Linked DNA regions of Homo sapiens: region 1 is linked to region 2. Evidence: promoter capture Hi-C in 16 types of primary human blood cells and fetal thymus (Javierre and others, 2016). All regions are on one chromosome and are shown on one strand. Each heading gives the region's core, a stretch centred on a gene start or on the middle of the fragment in contact. The rest is flanking DNA. Distances are from core to core; before and after follow the strand shown. Region 1 overlaps ALOX5 (arachidonate 5-lipoxygenase). Region 2 holds the start of OR13A1 (olfactory receptor family 13 subfamily A member 1).

The links. Contacts are between HindIII fragments. The CHiCAGO score rates a contact against its expected background, and 5 or more counts as called.
Region 1: a contact is called between a fragment that was not itself captured here and the fragment with the promoter of OR13A1 in region 2, in 1 of 17 cell types (total B cells). The highest score is 6.1, in total B cells.

What each region holds. Positions count from the first base shown.
Region 1 is chr10:45,377,091-45,383,121 of GRCh38, reverse strand. ALOX5 (arachidonate 5-lipoxygenase) reads right to left here. Exons shown (of 14, transcript NM_000698.5): 2 at 441-639. Among named protein-coding and RNA genes, the nearest start is that of ALOX5, 5.9 kb to the right of the region's middle. The HindIII fragment of the contact is 543 bases long and covers 4,392-4,934 here.
Region 2 is chr10:45,310,943-45,316,917 of GRCh38, reverse strand. It overlaps OR13A1 (olfactory receptor family 13 subfamily A member 1), which reads left to right and starts at 1,310. Exons shown (of 4, transcript NM_001004297.3): 1 at 1,310-1,394. The HindIII fragment of the contact is 10,818 bases long and covers 1-3,845 here.

The DNA of each region.
Region 1 (6,031 bases), core at 3,414-5,913, 63 kb before region 2:
TAGGCCCACATGGGGCACCCTGAGCTTGCCTGAGCCCTACTGTGATCTCACGGAGGGCAGGCTATGAACTAGAAAGTGATGCCACACCCTGGCAACTAGAGAAGTGCCCATCCAGGGGCATGTCCCATAGGTATCTGCCTGTATGGACCCTAGTTACCCACTGACAAAAAGAGGGGCACAACCCTCCCCTGTAGAACTGTAGCGCAGAGTGAGGACATGACGACAGTGAGGCCTGGGGCCACCCGCTCCACCCTCAGGGGCTTGTAAGAATCCCAAGGAAAGTCATGCCTCCTGCAGGTGTGTCGAGGCACAGGGCAGAGCCCTCCCACTTCCCGCCCCTGCACAGCAGTGTCATTCCTCCTATGACTACAGTGCTTTGAGGACAGGAAGAACTTTCGGTTCTTGGGAAGCCCGGGGCAGAAGGGGCCTGAGCTGCTCACCGCGTCCATCCCTCAGGACAACCTCGACATCGCCGGTGATCCAGCGGTAGCAGGGGAACTCGATGTAGTCCCCGTGGGGCGTCTTCAGCGTGATGTACTTCAGGTACCAGTCGTCATTCAGCCAGTACTTGCGCTTCTCGATTCTGACCAGCTGGATCTCGCCCAGTTCCTCGTCCACAGTCACGTCGTATGAATCCACCTGGGAAGGAGAACAGGCAATCAGGCCATGCGTGGTCTCCTGAGCCTTTGTTCTGGAGGTGTTAAGAATTTGTCACCCCAAGGTATGCTGCTGTGGCACAGGGACTACGTTGAATGAAAAGCACTTAAAAAAACAGCAGGTGCAAGATACTCTGACATTCGTGCTGTTTCTTAGAAGCAGGAGATGAAAGTCCCCTATGAAAGATGTCCTCACTATACCAAAAGGAAAGTAACACTCTTTTCATCAAGGTTGGGAAGTTGAAGCCAAAGGAAATCCATACAAACAGATCTTGTACAATGAACGCTTACCTCCCGAGTCACTTCCCTGCCCAGTTACCTGCCCTAGCCCAAGCCCCTTGGCCTTATCACATCTCACGATGATTCATTCAATGCAGTATCTAAGGGGGATTGACTCTAACTGCTTCTTGGGGTCTTCATCTTTTTAAGAGGGCTCCCATGCCACGTACAACTTGTATTAAAGAAATCTGTAGGCTTTCGCCCATGAATCTGTCTTATGCCGATTCTCAGACCTAGCTGAAATGGGAAGAGGTGGAGTTTTGCCTCCACTACAGTTCATGGAGCCAAGATTCTTCATGAACACCTTAAATGAACTCCTGAATTCATTTACCCAAGACATTCACTGAAGGCCTGCCCCTGACAAGGCTCAGTGCTACGACCCAGGCAGGTGAAAGAAATGGACAAATCCTGGGCCCTGCCCTTGAGGAGAGAGAATCCAGTGAGCCAGGATGGTGCTGTGCTGCTCAGAGGGCAACGCCTGCTGACTGCACTTAGCTCAGGCTGGAGGATGGGGAGATGCCCAGGCTCATGCCTGCACCTGCGAGGCTGTGCCCAGTGAGGGTCCGCAGCTGCCCCCACATGGGATAGCCTTGTGGGAGACCTTTACAACTGGAGATGGGCTTGCTGACAGTGGATCCCCACAATGACTCTGGGAGTGCAGGGGAGTTACCACCCCTTCCACAGATGAAGACAGCGAGGCTCAGTGACTCCCACCTCTGCCACTTGCCAGCAGAGCTGGAGTCACACCCCAGGTCTTTCCATCATAGCCACTTCCTCTCTTTCCAGTTTTCAGTGGGGATAATAAGTGAGTGAAAATGGTGAGGCTTAGATACAGGGAGCTTGCATGGATTCGAGTCGTCCTGGGACATTTGCAGTTCACAGCTGCATGGTGATGCCCAGAGAACAGTGAGACCAAGCAGCTCTGCTGCACCTGTGGCATTACTGGTGGCAGGGTGAGGCTAGCCTTGCAGCTAGAAGGCACCACCCCAGGCTGTGTACAGCGCAGCTGCCCAGGCCTCTGGGACAAGGCTGCTTGGCCCCCTCCCTGCCAGGCTCCTGCTTCCAGGACACAGGCGGCTCTGAGGCAACAGCCATAGCTTCTGGAGGGCTTTTGTCTCTGCAGCAATGGATGGCAGACAGGAAGTTGGGATGAGAGGCTCAGGCATTGCATCACGCATTCTGATGACCAGCAGGTTTGGAAAGCCCCGGACTCGATGCCCTCCAAGGCATGTTCTTTTTTATTTTGAGGTGGAGTCTCACTGTGTTGCTCAGGCTGGAGTGCAGTGGCTCGATCTCGGCTCACTGCAACCTCCACTTCCAGGGTTCAAGTGATTCTCCTGCCTCAGTCTCCCAAGTAGCTGGGACTACAGGCACCTGCCACCACATCTGGTTAAGTTTTGTATTTTCAGTAGAGACAGGGTTTCACCATGTTGGCCAGGCTGGTCTCAAACTCCTGACCTCAAGTGATCCACCTGCCTCGGTCTCCCAAAGTGCTGGGATTACAGGCATGAGCCACTGTGCCTGGCCCCTGCAAGGCACTTTCTAAGCCAGATTCATCAACCCTTGAACTTTATCCCTGGCGGCAGAACCTAGAGTTCTCAGCATGATGGCAAAGTGGAAGGGGCGAGGGGTATCATCCTTTGTGCGAGCGCAGGCATCCCCATTCCATGCCCTGCCTCCAAGCTGCCAGGAGGACCCCTGGAGGGCTTCCTAAGAGGAATGGGAACTTGAGTGTTTTCCACAAACCTCCTGGCTCTGAATACCGTGAGCAGTTTGGGGTGGCTGACGCTGAGGCCAGACGCTTGTGGTCAGAAAGCGGAAGCTTCCTCCCTGTGCTCTGTAGTCTAGGCCAGAGGCCCTAGGAACAGTTTCTGATGACAGAGGAGCCAGGCCCATGTGGTGGGATGACATGTCTTGGGTCCAGCCACATGTGGACCAGCCTCGGCCCCACGACAATGCCCCTCCTGCAGGGAGAGTATCAGCCTCATCTGCCACCTCTGAGAAAGCCTTCCTGCCACAGCTTGTCCTCAGGAGAGCAGGGCCACACACAAGGCCTCGCCCATCATGGACAGGGTGGGCAGGTTCTGATGGGACAGGAGTCTCAGCATCTCAGGGGCTCGGGCCCATCTGGAGGAGCAGAGTGGGGGCTGAGTGGCCCAGGACTGGATACGCGTCGGGCCTGCCCCACGCCAGGCCCTGCATGCCACAGGGATTTACAGAGGCCTTAGCTGCAGGTTGTGAGCCAAGACAGAGATTCCTGATCCCACCGAGGAGTGGGGAGAGGGCAGTGAGGGGTAGAAGGCTCGGTGGGCCCTGGGGTCTGGAGCTCTGAATTCACATCCCAGCTTCAGGCAAGTAGCTGGATGGCCTGGGCACATTGCTTCATTCTCTGAAGCTGTTTCTTCATCTACCCAAAGGAGATACCCCTCACTTGCAGGACCATTGAGAAAATGAAATGACACCATCCTGGGTGGCCTCCTTTCTCCAGAGGCACAGGCCACCGGTTGTGTGCATCAGAACCACCAGTGCCCCTTCCTGAATCCAGGGGGTTGCAGGGCACCAGGCCCCACACCGCCTGTGAGCTAGCATGGGCCCCTGCGTCACGGCCACTTCGTGACTACATGTGCCAATCCGAGTAACTGGAGCACACATGGGAGGAGGAAACTGAACCTGTGACCTCAAACTCCTTCACTCAAAGCCCAGAAGGAACTCCTGAAAGGCTGGAGACAGGGCTGTGAGGACAGAGGGAGAGTGGGAGGCATTCTGAATGCTGGTGGGGCAGGCAGAGCAAGTCTGTGTGCGGTGAGGACTGAGGGGCGGCCACCAGAGGCCCGGGCCTGGTCTGAGTGTGGCTGCTGCAGGGGAAGTAGCTTTCCTATGGCTCTGAGGGGCTGGAGAGGGAGGAAGGTGTCCCCAGGGGATAGATGACAGGAAAGCTGGGGTGGGGTGGGAGGAGCTAACAGGGACACTCTCATGGGAGGGAGGCTCCCAGTACCTTGGACTAAGAGGGGAGGGAGATGGGCTGAGGAGGCATTCCAGGACTGGGCAGGTCCCACAGGGAGGGCCCGATGTCTACCTGGGGGTGACGACCCACACGAAGAGACTGAGCAGCTTCTCTGAGGGAGTGGACAGTGGGGTGACCCTCCAGCACACCTGTGGTGCAGTCACAGGGGACTGGGACACTCCTGGCCCCCTGCCCTACCTACACCTGCAGGCACCTGGTGGAGAGCCCCTGAGTTTCACTTGGGGTGAAATCACTAGGCAGATTTACAAGGACTCCATCTGCCATCTGACAGGGACTTCCACAGCAGGAGGGGGCCAGGCCTGCAGTCTGGCTGGTCTATGGCCAGCCCAGCCACTTTCCTGGTGCTGGCTTCAAGCCTGAATATGATAAGAGGTGAACAAGGGGCAGAGGGCTCCAGCCTTGACCCAACTCAGGGAGTAAAAGACAAAGCTTGATGGCTGTGGTTCTAACATCCCAGGGGCCACTAATGGAAGAATGACAGATAAAGGCCTCCTTCCAGGAAAATACCAGGGTCACATGTGTCAAACTGCAAAATATCTTCGGAAGGTTTGTGGAACTACAATGGCCACCTTCCTCCCTCCTCTCTGGGCCAAGTACACTGGGCTGATGCTATATTTGTCTATTTGCTGTGACACATTAAATTCTCAGGTGACACACTGAATTATGGTGGGCACTATCAACAGTGGACACCCCCCAACAGGCCCTCAGGAAGCACTGGGCCTGGGAATGGCCGAGCGAGTGATTATCCTGCTTTACAGATAGAAACTGAGGCTCAGAGAGCAATGGTGGCCTCAAGATCAGAACCTACACCTGTGTGATGGCCAAGCCCAGGTTCCTCCCACAGTTCCCCAAGGCCACATCTTGAGAAAAGCCCTGAACCGGAAGCTAGAAGGCCCAGCTTTGAGCCCTGGTTTGTACCCTGGATGGAGTGTAAAGGGGCAATGTGGAGTGGCATGGAAGGACAGGGAAAAGCTTCATAAGAGGGTATTTCAGGCAGCTTTTAGGGGCTGATCAGATTTCAGAGGGCAGATGAGTAGGAGGATGGGCATGGGTAGCACATTTCAGATGTGGGGAACTGGGAGGGCAGGGTCCCCGGGGGATTCACACGTGGGAGGAGGAAGGCTGGACACAGTTTCTGGGGACAGAAGTGGGTGGCGTGGTGGTGCAGATGCTGGAGAGAAACAAGGGAAACCTGCAACTCACCGGCCTCATTTCACAAGGGGCCACTTTGCTGATTTTGCTTGTTGCTTTTAACTTTTTATTGGATATGTAGTTTTAAAGCTTTTGAATATTTCGGCAAAGAGTCAGTTGGTCAGTTTTCATGTGAGCTTTCTATCAGCATTTTAGGAAAGTTTTCATCTGTCTTTCATCAGATCTCTGCTGTTGCTGGGACAGGGAGACGGATCTCTCTGCGGAAGCAAGGATGTGTGCCCCACCCCCAGACTACCCATCTTGGAGGGGGACTAATGAGGGGCTGTGGGAGGAGGAAGCTGTAGAGCAGAGAGGAAGATTGGGGGCCAGACAAAACAGAGACTCGGGATGAGAGAGGGGGAGGCTATGGGGAAGAGCTGAGGAAAACAAGGGACGGAGAGAGGGATTGGGGTAGTGGATAGGGAGACCAAGGGGCAGAGAAGGGGGAAAATGTGGGACAGAGAGCCGGAGATTGAGGGAGCAGAGAAGGGGCCTCTGAGAGGTGGCTGGAAGACAGAGTGTAGAGGAAAATTCAGAGCAAAAAAGAAGGGAGAGTTGTAGGGTAGAGAGCAGAAACGGGGGGCATTTAGGGAACTGGGAGCAGGGGAAGGAAGAGGAGGCAGAAGAGGGGGCAGAATGTAGGGAAAAGATGGCTCAGAGGGGGAGACTGGGAGATGAGAGACGGATTGAGGGTCATACCAAAGAAATATTTATGCTCCACTAATATATTCCCATTCACAAGAAGGAGGTATTCTAGAATTAATTTTTCATGAATGTAAGAATACTCACTGACTTAAGAAGCATGAATCATTATAACACTTTTCTACACTTGTTGAACATATTCAAGTATCATATATTAAACACCACGCTATTGCCCTTA
Region 2 (5,975 bases), core at 61-2,560:
GAGCATTTTTTCTTATGTTTTTTGCCCATTCATATATAATTTTAAAAGAAATGTCTATTCAAATCCTTTTGCCATTTTAAAATCATATTATTTTTAAATATTGTGTTGTAGAAATTATTTATATATTCTGGATATTAACTCTTTATCAGATATATAATTTACTAATATTTTCTTCCATCCACAAGTTTTTTTTAACATTGTTATGTCCTTTAATGCATAAAAGTTTTAAAAAGTTTGATGTAGTCCCAATTGTCTATTTTTTCTTTTGTTGTCTGTACTTTTGGTGTCATATTAAAAAATAATTGCCATATCCCCTTATTCTAAGAGTTTTATAGTTTTAGATCTTCCATTTAAGTTTTAAATCCATTTTGAGTTAATTCTTGTATATGGCATAAGACAAAGTTTCAACTTCACTCTTTCATGTGTGGATATCCAAGTTTCCCAACACTGTTTGTTGAAGAGAATGTTCTTCCCTCATTGAGCGGATCTGGAATGCTGTAAATATTATTTGACCATATATGTGGAGTTTTCTTTTAATGGGTTCTTTATTCTATTCCATTGGTCTATATGTCTCTCTTTAAGCCAGTGTCATGCTGTTTTAATTACTGTAGTCTTGTAACATGTTTTGAGATCACGGAGCATGAGACCTTCAACTCAGTTAGTTTTCAAGATTGTCTAGTCAGAGTATATATGAATATTTAGATAAATTTTTCTCTTTTTTCAAAAAATGCAGCTTAGATTTTGATAGGGATTACATATAATTTGTAGACTGCTTTGGGTTCTATTGACTTTTCAAATTAATACATAATGTTGTACAGATTTGGGGAATACATCTGATATTTTGGAGATCTTAACATTAAATCTTCCAATCCATGAATACCAATGTCTTTACATTTATTTGTGACTTCTTTCAGTACTGTTTTGTAGTTTTCAGTGTACAAGCCTTTTATTTCCCTGGCTAAGTTTATTCCTAAGTATTTTACTATTTTTGATGGTATTGTAATTAAATTATTTTCTTAATTACCTTTGGATTGTTTATAGTTAATTTATAGAAAGGCAACTGATTTTTGTGTGTCGATTTTGGATCCTGCAACTTTCCAGAATTTGTTTAATAGTTCCAACAGTTTTCTGGATTTTATGCATATATGCATCTAACAGTTTTCTAGATTTTATGCAGGAGTCTAGGATTTTATGCATATAGGATCAAGTCATCTGTGAGCAGAGATAATTTTACTTTTTTCTTTTATTCTTTGGATGTCTTTTCTTGCTTAATTTTTTTTTCCTAATTGGTCTGCTTGGAAATTCAAATACTATATTGAATAGAAGCGAAGAGACAGAGTATACTTGTCTTGTTCCTAATCCAGAAGAAAAGTTTGAATCTTTTACCATTGAGTGTAAGTTTACCTGTGGATTTTTCATATATGGCCTTTATTATGTTATTTTCCTTCTATTCCTAGTTTGCTGAGTGTTTTCGTGATAAAAGGTGTTAAATTTTGTTAAACATTTTTTCTACATCAATATAAATGATCATGCTGTTTTGTCCTTTATTCTATTACTATAGTGTATTACATTGATTTTTGCATGTTGTATTATTCTTTTTTTTTGAGATGAAATCTCATTCTGTCATTCTGGCTGGAGTGCAGTGGCATGACCTCAGCTCACTGCAACATTTGCCTCCTGGGTTCAAGGGATTCTCCTGTCTCAGCCTCCCAAAGTGCTGGGATTACAGGCATGAGCCAGCACACCCTGCCACATGTTCTATCATTCTTGCATTCCAGGAATAAAGCCAACCTGATCATCACAAATATTGGTCTGTAGTTTTCTTTTCATGTAATGTCTTTGTTTGACTTTGAAATCAGGGTAATACTGGCCTCATATAATGAGCTTTGAAGTGTTTTTTATATTCATTTTTGTAAATGACTTTGAGAAACATTGGTTCTAATTCTTCCTTAAATGTTTGGTAGTCATCCGGTTCTGGGCTGTTGTTTGTTTGGAGGTTTTTGAACCAGTTTAATCTCCTTCGTAGTTATAAGTCTGTTCGTTTTTTCTACTTCTTCATGATTCACTCTTATTAGGTTGTATATTTCTAGAAATTTATGCACTTCTAAATTATCCAATTTGTTGACATATAATTAACTGTTGATGGTATTTTCTTATAATCCTTTTGATTTCTATGGCATGGGTTCTAATGTTCTCTTTTTTATTTCTGATTTATTAGTTGAATCTTTTTTCCTTAGTTAATCTAGCTAAGCATTTGTTAATTTTGTTGGTGTTTTCAAAAACCACCTCTTAGTTTTGTTGATTTTTTTCTATTGTTTTTATATTCTATATTTCATTTATCTCTGATTTAATCTAATCTTTAGGATTTTCCTCCTTCTGCTAGCTTTGGGTGTAGTTTTTTTTCTCTCCTAGTTTCCTGAGGTATAAAGTTAGGTTGTTGATTTGCAAACTTTCTTCTACTTCTTTTTTTTTTTTTCTTAAGTTGTGGAGATGGGGTCTTGCTTTGTTGCCCAGGCTGGTCTCAAATTCCTGGCCTCCAGAAGTTCTCCTCCCTCAGCCTGTCAAAGTGCTGGGATTGCAGGCATGACCCACCATGCCTAGCCACTTTCTTCCTTTTATAATGCACATATTTATAGCTATAAAATTCTCTGTTAGCACTGCTTCTGCTGCATCTTACACATTTTGGTACATTGTATTTTTATTTTCCTTTATCTCAAGATATTTTCTAACTTCCCTTGTGATTTCTTTTTTGACCCATTGCTTGTTGAAAACTGTGTTGTTTAATTTTCACATATTTGTGAATTTTTTGTTTTCCTTCTGCTACTGATGTCTAGTTTTATGTCATTTTCATCAAAATAGATATTTTGTATAATTTCAATCTTTTAAAATTTGTTACAAGTTTTTTTGTGGTATAACATGTGATTTATCTTTGGGAATATTCCATGTAAACTTGAGAAAAATACTATTCTGATTTTATTGGGTGGAATGTTCTGCACATGTTTGTTAGCACTATTTATAGTGTTGTTCAAGTACTGTATTTCCTTATCGATTTTCTGTCTTGTTGTTCTAGCCATTATTGTAAGTGAGGAATTGAAGTCGCCTACCATTATTATGCTGTTTATGTTTCCTCTCTGATCTGTCAATGTTTGCTTCAGATATTTAGGAGCTCTGGTATTAGAGGTATATATATTTGTAATTGTTATATCTTTCTGCTGAATTGACTTTTTGTTATATAATATCCATTTTTTTGTCTTGTGACTATTTTTGACTTTAAGTCTATTTTGTTGGATAGTAGTATAGTCACTTCTGCTTGCTTTTATTTACCATTTGCATGGCATTTACTTTTCCTTTTTTTCATTTTAAGCATATTTGTTTCTTAGACCTAAATGACAGGATAAAGTTGGATCCTTTTTACAAATCCATTTTCCAGTCTATATCTTTTGATTCAGGAGTTTAATCCATTTACATTTAAAGTAATTACTGATAGGGAAGGACCTACACTTGCCATTTTGTTGTTTCCTGTATGTTTTGTAAATTTTGTTTTTTATTCCTTCTCTTACTGACCTCTTTTGGGTTTTGTCGATTTTTTTTTGTGGTGACATTTTGATTCCCTTCCTGTTTCCTTTTGTGTGTATTCTATAGATTTTTTTATGGTTACCATAAGAATTATAAAAAACATCTTAAAGTGTTAACAAGCTATTTTAAACTGTTAAGAGAATAACTTCGACTGTGTACAAAAACTATTTCTTCAAAGCTCCTACCCTCACCTTAGGTTACTTATGTCACAAGTTACATCTTCATATGTAATGTATTCATTAACACAGTTTTATAGTTATTTTTAAGCTTTTGTCTTGTAAATTCTATACAAGAATTAAAAGTGCATTTATGTACCAAAACTGCATAGTACAGTCTCTATATATGTCCATATATTTATCTTTACTGGAGAGCTTTATATTTTCATAAGACTTCATGTTACTATTTAGCATCCTTTTGTTTCAACTTGCAAGATACTACAGCAGGTCCAGTGGTAATGAACTCCCCAGTTTTTGTTCATCCTGGAAAGGCTGATTTTTCCTTTATGTTTGAAGGATGGTTTTGCTGGATATAATATTTTTGGTTGAAATTTTCTTTTCTTTCAGCTCTTTGAATATATTATCCCCCTGCCTTCTGGCCTGCAAGGTTTCTGTTGATAAATCCACTGATAATTTTATAAAGGCTTCCTTTTACATGACAAGTTACTTTCTTTTGCTGCTTTCAAGATTGTCTCTTTGTCTTTGACTTTTGAGAGTTTGATTATAGTGTGTCTCACTGTGAGTCTCTGGGTTTTCTTTAACATTTTTTTTTTGTTCATATCTTCTGATGATGAATTCCTTTAACTTTTATATTTGTGAAATGTTTTTTCTTCATTTTCAGAAGGTATTTTTAGTGAGTGTAAAATTCTACATTGACAGTTTTTTTCTTTCAGTACTGTTTAGTGTTTCTCTACTGTCTTCTTGCTTGTACTGATTGTATAGAAACTCTGCTGTAATTCTTATCTTTGTGTCTTTGTACTTAATGTGCCTTTTTACTCTGCCTGTTTTTAAGATTTTATTTTTATTATTGATTTTGATCATGTGGCTTGGTGTGAGTTTCTTCATATTTATTGTGCTTGGGGTTCATTGAGCTTATTAAGTCTGTAGGTTTATATTTTTCATTACATTTAGAAAAATTGTAGCCATTATTCATTCAAATTTTTTTCTGTTCTTCTCCCATTTCTCATGCCCTTATGGGGTCTAATTATATGTATATTAGGCTATTTGAGGTTGTCTTACAGCTCACTTACAGTTCTTATGTTTATTTTTCCACTTCTATTTCATTTGGGCAGGTTTATTATACTTTTCCCTAATTTGCTAATTTTTTTGCAATGTCTAATCCACTGTTAATCTCATCCAATGTATTATTAATTTCAGACATTGTAGTTTTCATCTCTAGAAATTGTTCATCTTTTTATATCTTCTTTGTCTCTATTTGATATGCTAAGTCTTTTCTCTAGCTTCTTGAGCATATGAAATATAGTTATGACAACTATTTTATTTTATTACAACTTTTACCTTAGGTTCAGAGGTACATGTGCAGGTTTGTTATGTAGGTAAACTCGTGTCACAGGAGTTTGTTTATTATTTCATCACTCAGGTACTAAGCCTAGTACCCAATAGTTGTTTTTCTGTTCCTCTCCCTTCTCCTACCCTCCAACTTCAAGTAGGCCCCAGTGTTTATTGTTCCTCTCTTTGTATCACTACTATTTTAATGTCTCTACTAGTTCTCTTATTTTTGTCATTTCTGAGTTGATTTTATTTTTCTCACTATGGCCATATTCTCCTACTTCTTTGAATATCTGGTATGCAAATTATACCTAGTATGGATATTATATCAAGACCCTGTCGCAATATGGATACCTAAAAGAAAATAACAATGTTTACCAGTTTGCTCTAAGCCTTTCTTAGCTCTTTTGCTTGTTTCTCAAGAACAAGCACAGAGGGTGGAGCTCAACCAAGACTGAAGTTAAAGATGTAGAAAGATTGAGATGGGAAGTAATTAAGTTGAGGAGCTCTGATACAATGGTATTTCTCTTTTTAATCATGTAAGATGCAAGCCCAAGATAATATGTTGGGAAAGTTGAAGGCGAATGTCTTGAGAAATATGAAATGCACCCAAGGCTATGGCTGGGTGATAGAAATAACTAAAAAGTTTTAAAAGGATTGTTTTATAGCTGGTCCTTGCTGAGGTTAGGGGATAGGCCTGGAAAAATTGAGCAGTGGTATTGCCCAGGCAGGACTCCTCATGACATTCTCCAGATCCCTAAGTTTTTCCAAGTTTCCAAGCATTTCCTTGGCCAGCAAGTCATCTCGCAGCACAGATCCTACTCTCTTTCAGTCAGTCATTCCACAACTCTACAAAGCATTTTTCTCCATCAAATGGGAACTTTTGGGGTTCTG